Regions from separate parts of the Homo sapiens genome. Here region 2 is linked to region 1. Evidence: promoter capture Hi-C in 16 types of primary human blood cells and fetal thymus (Javierre and others, 2016). All regions are on one chromosome and are shown on one strand. Each heading gives the region's core, a stretch centred on a gene start or on the middle of the fragment in contact. The rest is flanking DNA. Distances are from core to core; before and after follow the strand shown. Region 1 holds the start of SPMIP5 (sperm microtubule inner protein 5). Region 2 has its middle 12 kb from the start of KCNK18.

What was found. Contacts are between HindIII fragments. The CHiCAGO score rates a contact against its expected background, and 5 or more counts as called.
Region 2: a fragment that was not itself captured here is called in contact with the fragment with the promoter of SPMIP5 in region 1 in 5 of 17 cell types (naive CD4 T cells, naive CD8 T cells, M0 macrophages and 2 more); the score reaches 7.4 in naive CD4 T cells.

What each region holds. Positions count from the first base shown.
Region 1 is chr10:116,667,491-116,671,366 of GRCh38, forward strand. It overlaps SPMIP5 (sperm microtubule inner protein 5), which reads right to left and starts at 2,476. Exons shown (of 6, transcript NM_001350931.2): 1 at 2,437-2,476; 2 at 768-833. The coding sequence starts at 822. It overlaps HSPA12A (heat shock protein family A (Hsp70) member 12A), which reads right to left. Exons shown (of 12, transcript NM_025015.3): 12 at 3,702-3,876. HSPA12A-AS1 (HSPA12A antisense RNA 1) reads left to right here and starts at 2,565. Exons shown (of 3, transcript NR_187551.1): 1 at 2,565-2,788; 2 at 2,904-2,995. The HindIII fragment of the contact is 1,303 bases long and covers 1,985-3,287 here.
Region 2 is chr10:117,183,322-117,187,092 of GRCh38, forward strand. No RefSeq gene overlaps it. Among named protein-coding and RNA genes, the nearest start is that of KCNK18, 12 kb to the right of the region's middle. The HindIII fragment of the contact is 946 bases long and covers 1,725-2,670 here.

The DNA of each region.
Region 1 (3,876 bases), core at 1,226-3,725:
TCGAACCTCAGCTTGTCAGAACCCAAAGCCTATTCTCAACCAGCCATTAGGACCAGAGTGAGGTTGGGCAACCCTGGAATATCACCCAAGTACTATTCCTCCTGAGAACGGCTGTATGGGAGAGCCAAGGGTCTGTGGGGACCACTGGGTTTGTCACCCACAGGGATATGACTTAGTAAGTTCTCAGTAGCCCAGAAGCCTGAGGAGGAATAGCCTCTAGGTAGGGCAACCAATCGTCCTGGTTTGCCAAGGACTGAGGAGTTTCCCAAATGCAAGATTTTCAGTGTTAAGGAAAGTCCCAGGCAGTCCCAGGACAAAGGCAGTCCCAGGTAGACCAGGGCAGTTGGCCAGCCTTCCTTTAGGGGATGCAGGAAAGGATGGGAGCACAAGAATAACCTTTGTGGAGGACTTGAGAAAACCAACTTGGGGAGAACAGGGCCTCTACTTATTCATGTGTCTATCCTCATCACATTGTGTCTATCCTCATCACATTGTGTCTATCCTGGTCCAAATTCATTCAACAGGCATTAAGTGCTTCCTCTGCATACCAGGCCATGTTCTGGGACGTGTGGTCTAAGTTCTGCCCCTCAGAACCCGGCCATCAGCCATCTTCAGCGATGGAATGCTCTCAATGCATGTCTGAGAAGCTAGAGCGCCTAGACTGGTCCAGTTGGCTGCACAGACACAGACAGTGGGTCAAGGCAGGGACAGTGACCAGGACCCGGGTTCCCCTGCCAGGCACAGCTGCAGGGTACGTCCACACTTACCGCTATAGCCTGGTGTGATTGGCAGGTTTCTCATGAAGGTCTTGGAAGGCTCCATGATTTCGCTCTCTGTTAGTGGAGGGAAGAGGGAATGAAACGGTCTCATCAAAAGTCACTGCCTTAAGGAATTACTATTGAGTGTGCACAAGCTCTTGGGAGTGGAAGAATGACTGCCAGGAGTTGGGGCTGAGAGGCAGCACTACCACCTTACCCAAAGCCAGAGACACAGCTGGCTTCAGTCACAAACCAATGACCTATTACCAAGGGCCCATCACCTTTTATGTTAACTTGGATAACAGTGTGTAGATCACACCTACCAGGGTCTCCTCTCCCCTCCATCCGACCTCCAGCCATCCAACAATTGTGAACTGTACTCATACTATGGCTGTGAAACATGATAGAGGCTGGGAATGCAAAGCTTCTGAGCAAGCCCAGAAGCCCCTGTGTTAGGTTCATGAGCCTCAGGTGAGGAGAGAGATGAGGCCCGCACACCCCCAGACCTCCTTCTTGATCCAGGTGAAATCAGGTTGCAGTGGTGATTTTTGCCAGCCCCCACCATTACCCCTGGAACATCTGGCAATGTCCAGAGGCATATTTGGCTGTCAGAAGTGGGGGATGGGATGCTACTGAACATCCTGCAATGCTCAGAAGCCTCCCCCCACCCGCCGGCACACACATGCACACACACACACACACACACACACACACACACACACAAACAAGGGAGAAGAAATTCTGGCTTGAAGGAATCAGGAAGTCCCAAAAGGCAGACATGGAGTCCAAGGAGGGTAAGCAGAGGCCACCCTCTGCTTCAGGGGGCTCCACTGAAACATCAGTTTATGTGGATGCTGTTTCTGCAATAAGACACCTTCCCTCTTTGGGTATCGCTGGTCATTCCCCCCAAGTGGGCTGAGGCCTTGCCAAGTCCTGCCCTGCTGAGCCAGTTCATCTCTTTAAAGAAATGCCTTTGAGGCTGGAAGAAGAGGATTCAGGGTGGAGGAGAGGGCCACAGTCATGGCTTAGTCAGCAATGATGGGGATTGTTAAGACAGTTCAGCCCCCGCCAGGCTGACAGCAGTGAGGACTGTGCCGCGTCTAGGCCACTCTAACCCCTGGCATCACGTACCTGACTCCTGGGAGGAAGCACTGGGCCTGGAGTCAGACAGACCTGGCTGTGAGACCATGTCCCACCCATACTGACCACCTGCTTACTTTTCTGAAAGCTTTCCACGCTTGTTTAATCCTCTCAACAGCCCCATGATATAAATGCTATATTATACCCATTCCCCAATTTAAAAAGGCAACAGACAGGGAACACTGGCTATCCCCATGTGGTTGCAGCAGAACCGCATTCTCCTTTAATCCCCACAGCTTCCCTAAGAATGAGTTCCTGTTGGAACCCCCATTTTATAAATGTGAAAAATAAGGCACAGAGAGGTTAGGTAACTGGTTTCAGGGTTCCAGAGTGAAAGGGGGTGCGAACAGATGACCTCTAAACTCTCAGGGACAGGATATGTTGCCCAAAAGCATCAGCTGGGGTATAAGCCTGCCTGGAGGAGGTGGGCAGGGAGGAGGGTGGGAAGAAAGGCGGTGTCCTGAGAAAGGGGGCTAGGAGTGGGTAGAAAGTAGGGCCCCTCCTAGCCACCCTCTTCCAATCCCACCTCAGCGCTCACCTGGGCGGGGCTGGCGCTATCCGGTGCCCACTTGGCCTCTGCCCGGCCGCCCAGGATCCCTGCCTTCCACCAGGCCTTTGTGCGCTCACCCGGTGGAGCACAAAGGCCCCACCACCGCCAGCCTGCCCCTCCCCCACCCTTCCCGCGGTCCCACCTGGAAGGTGGGCGCTTCCCCCAGCGCCCGGCACAGCCCGGACCCCGGTGTAAAGTCGGGCATCTGCGCAGTAAACATCTGGCCTCGGAGCTGTCCTCCGCGCCTTGGCTGCCCCAGCCAGGGGAAGGATATGCGGAGGGCTCTAAGTCAAAGCGGGCGTTTTTGCGGGTGTAGACACTGCGGCGCCTGGGTCTGCAGGTCTGGCCGGGGAAGCGGGTGGGCGGGAACAGGGGGCGGGGCCGGCAGTGGGCGGGAGGAGGCGAGGCCTGGGGGCCCTGGCGCCTCCAATACAGGAGCTTCCTGGGCCTGGCAGCCCCTCCCTCCCTGTCTCCTGTTAGGAGGGGCAGATTTTCAGGTGGCCGGGACAGGTGAAGGCAGAGAGGAGTGGCTGTCCACCTGGGGAAGGTGAGTCATCCTTCTTTCTAATCACTCTTGGAGGGACACCCAGACTTCCTCTCATTGAATTGAAACCCACCAAGATGTCCGCCCTATGAACCAGCATGTGCTGGCTGCTCCCTTTACAGAAAATGACGCTGAAGCTGCGCTACTTCCAGGACACGCTTGTTTGCTGCACCTCCCGGCCTTCCCTACCTCTACTTTTCTGAAAATTGAACTGCAAATGAAGGCTGGTGGAGCCGACCACCATTTATACCTCTCTTTTATCACCCCATTTAGAACATACCTCGGGCCATCAGGAAGCTTTCAGAGCCAACTGTGGAGGGCGACTCAGGTGTAGGCTCTGGACACAGCCAGTTTCACGTGACGGCTGGGATGCCCAGGGGCAAGAGCCCAGCCAGGCCTTCTGCATGTTTTAATGACTTACACTGGGGTGCAGTGGCATTGGCAGTGGTCACTCTGCTTACCTGCCCTCCCTCTGGCTAGACCACTTTCTTCCAGAGAAAAGGGGCTCTGTGCCCATCGATGGGGCCTTGGTTCCCAGCAAACAAAGGGCCTAGTCTTGTTAGAATAACTTAAGAAAACTTACAGCACCTGGAAAAAACTGAAACTCTCTCTCCACCACCTGAGATGGGGTAGAGAGGGAGATCAGTACTGACGTGTCCATCATGCAGTTTGCAAACCCAGGATGGGGGGAAAAAAAATCTGGGCCACATGAGATTCAGAGTTTTGCTTTATTAGGCGTCTGTGAAGACAAGAGAGTTTGCAGACACAGTCCCGTCTGGTGGTGAACTGCTGCAAAGTTCTGTGAAGTTTGAATTTATCTTGTAGTGAATGAGACCCCAGTAGCTGATATTTTAGAATACTGGTCCATATTTCAAGCAGATGAG
Region 2 (3,771 bases), core at 948-3,447, 520 kb after region 1:
TGGAATCTCAGGCACACCTCTGTTCTAGCTCAAGGAAAAGGGAAAGAGAGGAAGTCCAGGTCAATCAATTTTCTTTTAAGCCAGTGAGGTGTAAAGGCAAACACCACTTCTGTTACATCCAGTTGATGACCACTTTGTCATAGCCACACCCAGCCACAAAGTCAGCTGCCAGCTGTAGCCTCTAGCAGATGTCCGTTGCACAGGAAGAAGGGAAGAACTGATCTTGAGGGCACAACTGACCATAATCCCACCAAAGGAAACAGGACATCCTAAGATGGCCGCTGAAATCACTACCCTTGCTGATGGAAACTCACATCTCTGAGCCTTTGGCAAGGGCTTTAATAAATTCTCCTTCTAGAAATGACTTCCTGCAGCCTGCTGTTAATTATCCTGGTTGGAGGAGGACAGAGTGAGGAGAACTTAAAGATAAAATACATGTAAAATGCCTTAGGAACTTTAAAGCACTGTCTAAGTCCAAAGGGTACGACACTTCTTGTTCTGGCGGTGGTGGCTATTTTTATTCTAGAATTTTGAGGTTTGAAAGTCCCATCCCTTCCCTCCTACAGGTTCCACACCAATTGGGAAATAGACACACATGTTGAAGAGGGGCCCTACATCAGCTTTATTGCTGATAAAGTTGGATCTGAGGAAGTGATTTGAACTTGAGGTCAAAATTGATTGTTCAGTGACTTCCCCCAGCCATTGAATGGATTTGCTCATTCACTCAGGGCAAAGATGACCTGTCCTAGTCTCAGAGTCCATTTCCTCCTCTCTAAAATGGGAATAACAATGGCATCTATGGCACTACTGACTTACTCAAGATGCATACCATTCTTTCCAGTAGAGGCTGGAAATTTAAGTACTGTATTTCCCAGTCTCCTTAGCTGTTAGGATTCTGGATGCAAATTAGATTAGATTCTAGACAACAAATGCAATTAGGTTTTGGATTCAAAGTAGATGTCTTTCTGCAAGATTTGGAAAGCAGAAGTGCAGTAAAGATGTTTTTCCCATCCCTTTGGGACATTTCTCTGCTGGCAAGCGGGGTCACAGAGGTAAGGTGCTTCTTCAGGACTGTGCTTCAAGACACAAGACATGTTCTCCAGCCTCCTGACTGCGCTGCCGCTGCCGCTGCCGCTACCGCTGCGTGTCCTCGTAAACTCAGTGGTTCCAGCGCCAGCCTCTGAGGTAGCAGCTCTCCTGGAGAACCAGGTCTGCACTGTTCTGGGTGTCGAGCCTGCAGGACCAGCTGAGAACCTGCTCCTTTGGGCTTTGCAGTGTTTGAAAGCACATAGTATCCCATTTTAAATCCCTTCCTGCTGAAACACCCAGAGTAGATTATTTCCTCTACTGAGGTCTGATGCATTCAATTCTTCATTTACTGTGAAGATTAAATGAGATAATGCATGTGGAGCACTAGCATATCTCCTGGCACCCAGTATGTGTTCAATAAGTGGTAGCTGTGGCTTGTGCTTGTCATGGTAATAAATTGTTTACTTGTGACCTAAGTTATTAAGATCATGTCAGGGTTTTCAGGCAAGCCGCAAACGTCTTTGATCCATATTATGACAAAACCATACCTATTCAGTTTTTTCTTAGGATACTTTTGAAACACAACCAACAAACACATAATGAGTGCAGGCCACCATGCTGGCAAAAGTAATGAATGAGCAATCATGTATTTGGACTTCGGATATGCTAGTCCTTGTGCTAAGCAAGTTAAGACAAGCTTTTGAGATGGGTGTCATCATAGCTATTTTACAGAAAGAGATACAAGCTCAGAGAGGCTAAGCAATTTGCCCAAGGCTGCACAGCTAGGTAGTGGCAGAGCCTGGTCTTGGAGGCCAGGTCTTCTTTCTTCTCATTCCACCACAACAGCCTTTTGGAGTTTTTGCATGGGTTGTTCGTTCTGGTTTTTGGTTTGGTTTTTGGATAAAAATCAAGTGTCATTTTTCAGGGCCTATGTGGCAGGCATCCCAGATTTCCATCTTATGAATGGCCCTGAGGAGCCTGTACATTGCAGCCTCATCTTCCTCTCAGATGGTGGAGACAGAAAGCCTTGAGCAGCACTGTGCTCAATCTGGTGACAGATGGTGGTCAAGGCTAGACGTTCTCCTCTGGGAAGTCTGAGGGACTGGTGAGCCCTTGGAGCAGGCCCAATGCTGGCCTTGGGCCTGGCCTGAGGGGAACCACCGCCATAGAGGAGGCACAGTTCCACGGCTTACATAGGATCAAAAAAACTTTTTATTCTTATTTTCTCGAGATGGAGTCTCACTCCGTCACTCAGGCTAGAGTGCAGTGGCGCGATCTCGGCTGACTGCAAGCTCCGCCTCCCGGGTTCACACCATTCTCCTGCCTCAGCCTCCTGAGTAGCTGGGACTACAGGCACCCGCCACCACGCCCGGCTAATTTTTGTATTTTTAGTAGAGACGGGGTTTCACTGTGTTAGCCAGGATGGTCTCGATCTCCTGATATCATGATCTGCCCACCTCAGCCTCCCAAAGTGCTGGGATTACATACGTGAACCACCACGCCTGGCCAGATCAAAGAACTTTCTAACTTCTCCCTAATAAACACAGGCAGGGTTCTGGAGCAGGGGTCCCCAACCCCCAGGCAATGGACTGGTACTGTTAGGAACAGGGCGCAGGGGGTGAGCAGCGGGTGAGCAAGCAAAGCTTTGTCTCCATCTACAGCCACTCCCCATTGCTCACATTACTGCCTGAGCTCTGCCTCCTGTCAGGTCAGAGGTGGCATTACATTCTCATAGGAGCACAAACCCTATTGTGAACTGTGCATGCAAGGGATCTAGGTTGCCTGCTCCTTATGAGAATCTAATGCCTGGTGATCTGTCACTATCTCCCATCACCCCCAGATGGGACTGTCTAGTTGCAGGAAAACAAGCTCAGGGCTCCCACTGATTCTACATTATAAGTTGTATAACTATTTCATCATATATTACAATGTAATATTAATAGAAATAAAGGGCACAATGAATGTAACATGCTTGAATCATCCCAAAACCATCCCCTCTGTGGCCCATGGGAAAATTTTCTTCCACGAAACTGGTCCCTGGTGCCAAAAACGTTGGGAGCCACTGTTTGGGAGGATAAGTCAGAGCCTGGGTCTAGGAAAGGAAACAATTGATCAACTGATTTGGTTTGGGGCCTTTCTGTTGCTTTCACTGAGGGGTATTAGAAGACTAGGGGTTTCCTGGAAAACCTTTGTTTGGGACCAACCAACTTCTTGGTACAAAATGATCTTTCAAGCTAAGTCAGATCAAGGAGGAGCTGTACAGCCATGAGTAAGTAGGATGTTGGAAGGACAGAAAGGAACAGAGTTTCTGGGTAATCTCCCCAGCGTACGCTTCTGCTGTTTACTGGCCATGTGACCTTGGGCAAGTTACTTAACCTCTCTGAGCCTCAATCTCTTCATCAGTAAAATGGAAATAATAACCTCCTTAGCAAGGTAGAAAATTACATCATACATGTAAAGTGTTTAGCTTAGAACACTCTCAAAATGTGCTAGCAATAAAATTGATGGGTTATGGTTTCAGCCAAGGACCCCACTGGACCAGTGGTTCTCATCCTTGACTGCTCATCAAGGCTACCTTAGGAAGCTTCAAAGGCTACCACAGCCAGGTGCCCACATGGACCAAATTAAATCAGTGACTGCAACGTTAGTCACTGCTGATGACTTAATGAGGCAATCATCCATCTGGATTGAGAAAGAAAGGGTGGCTTTGAAGTCAGACCTCAGTTGAAAGCCCGGTTCTAA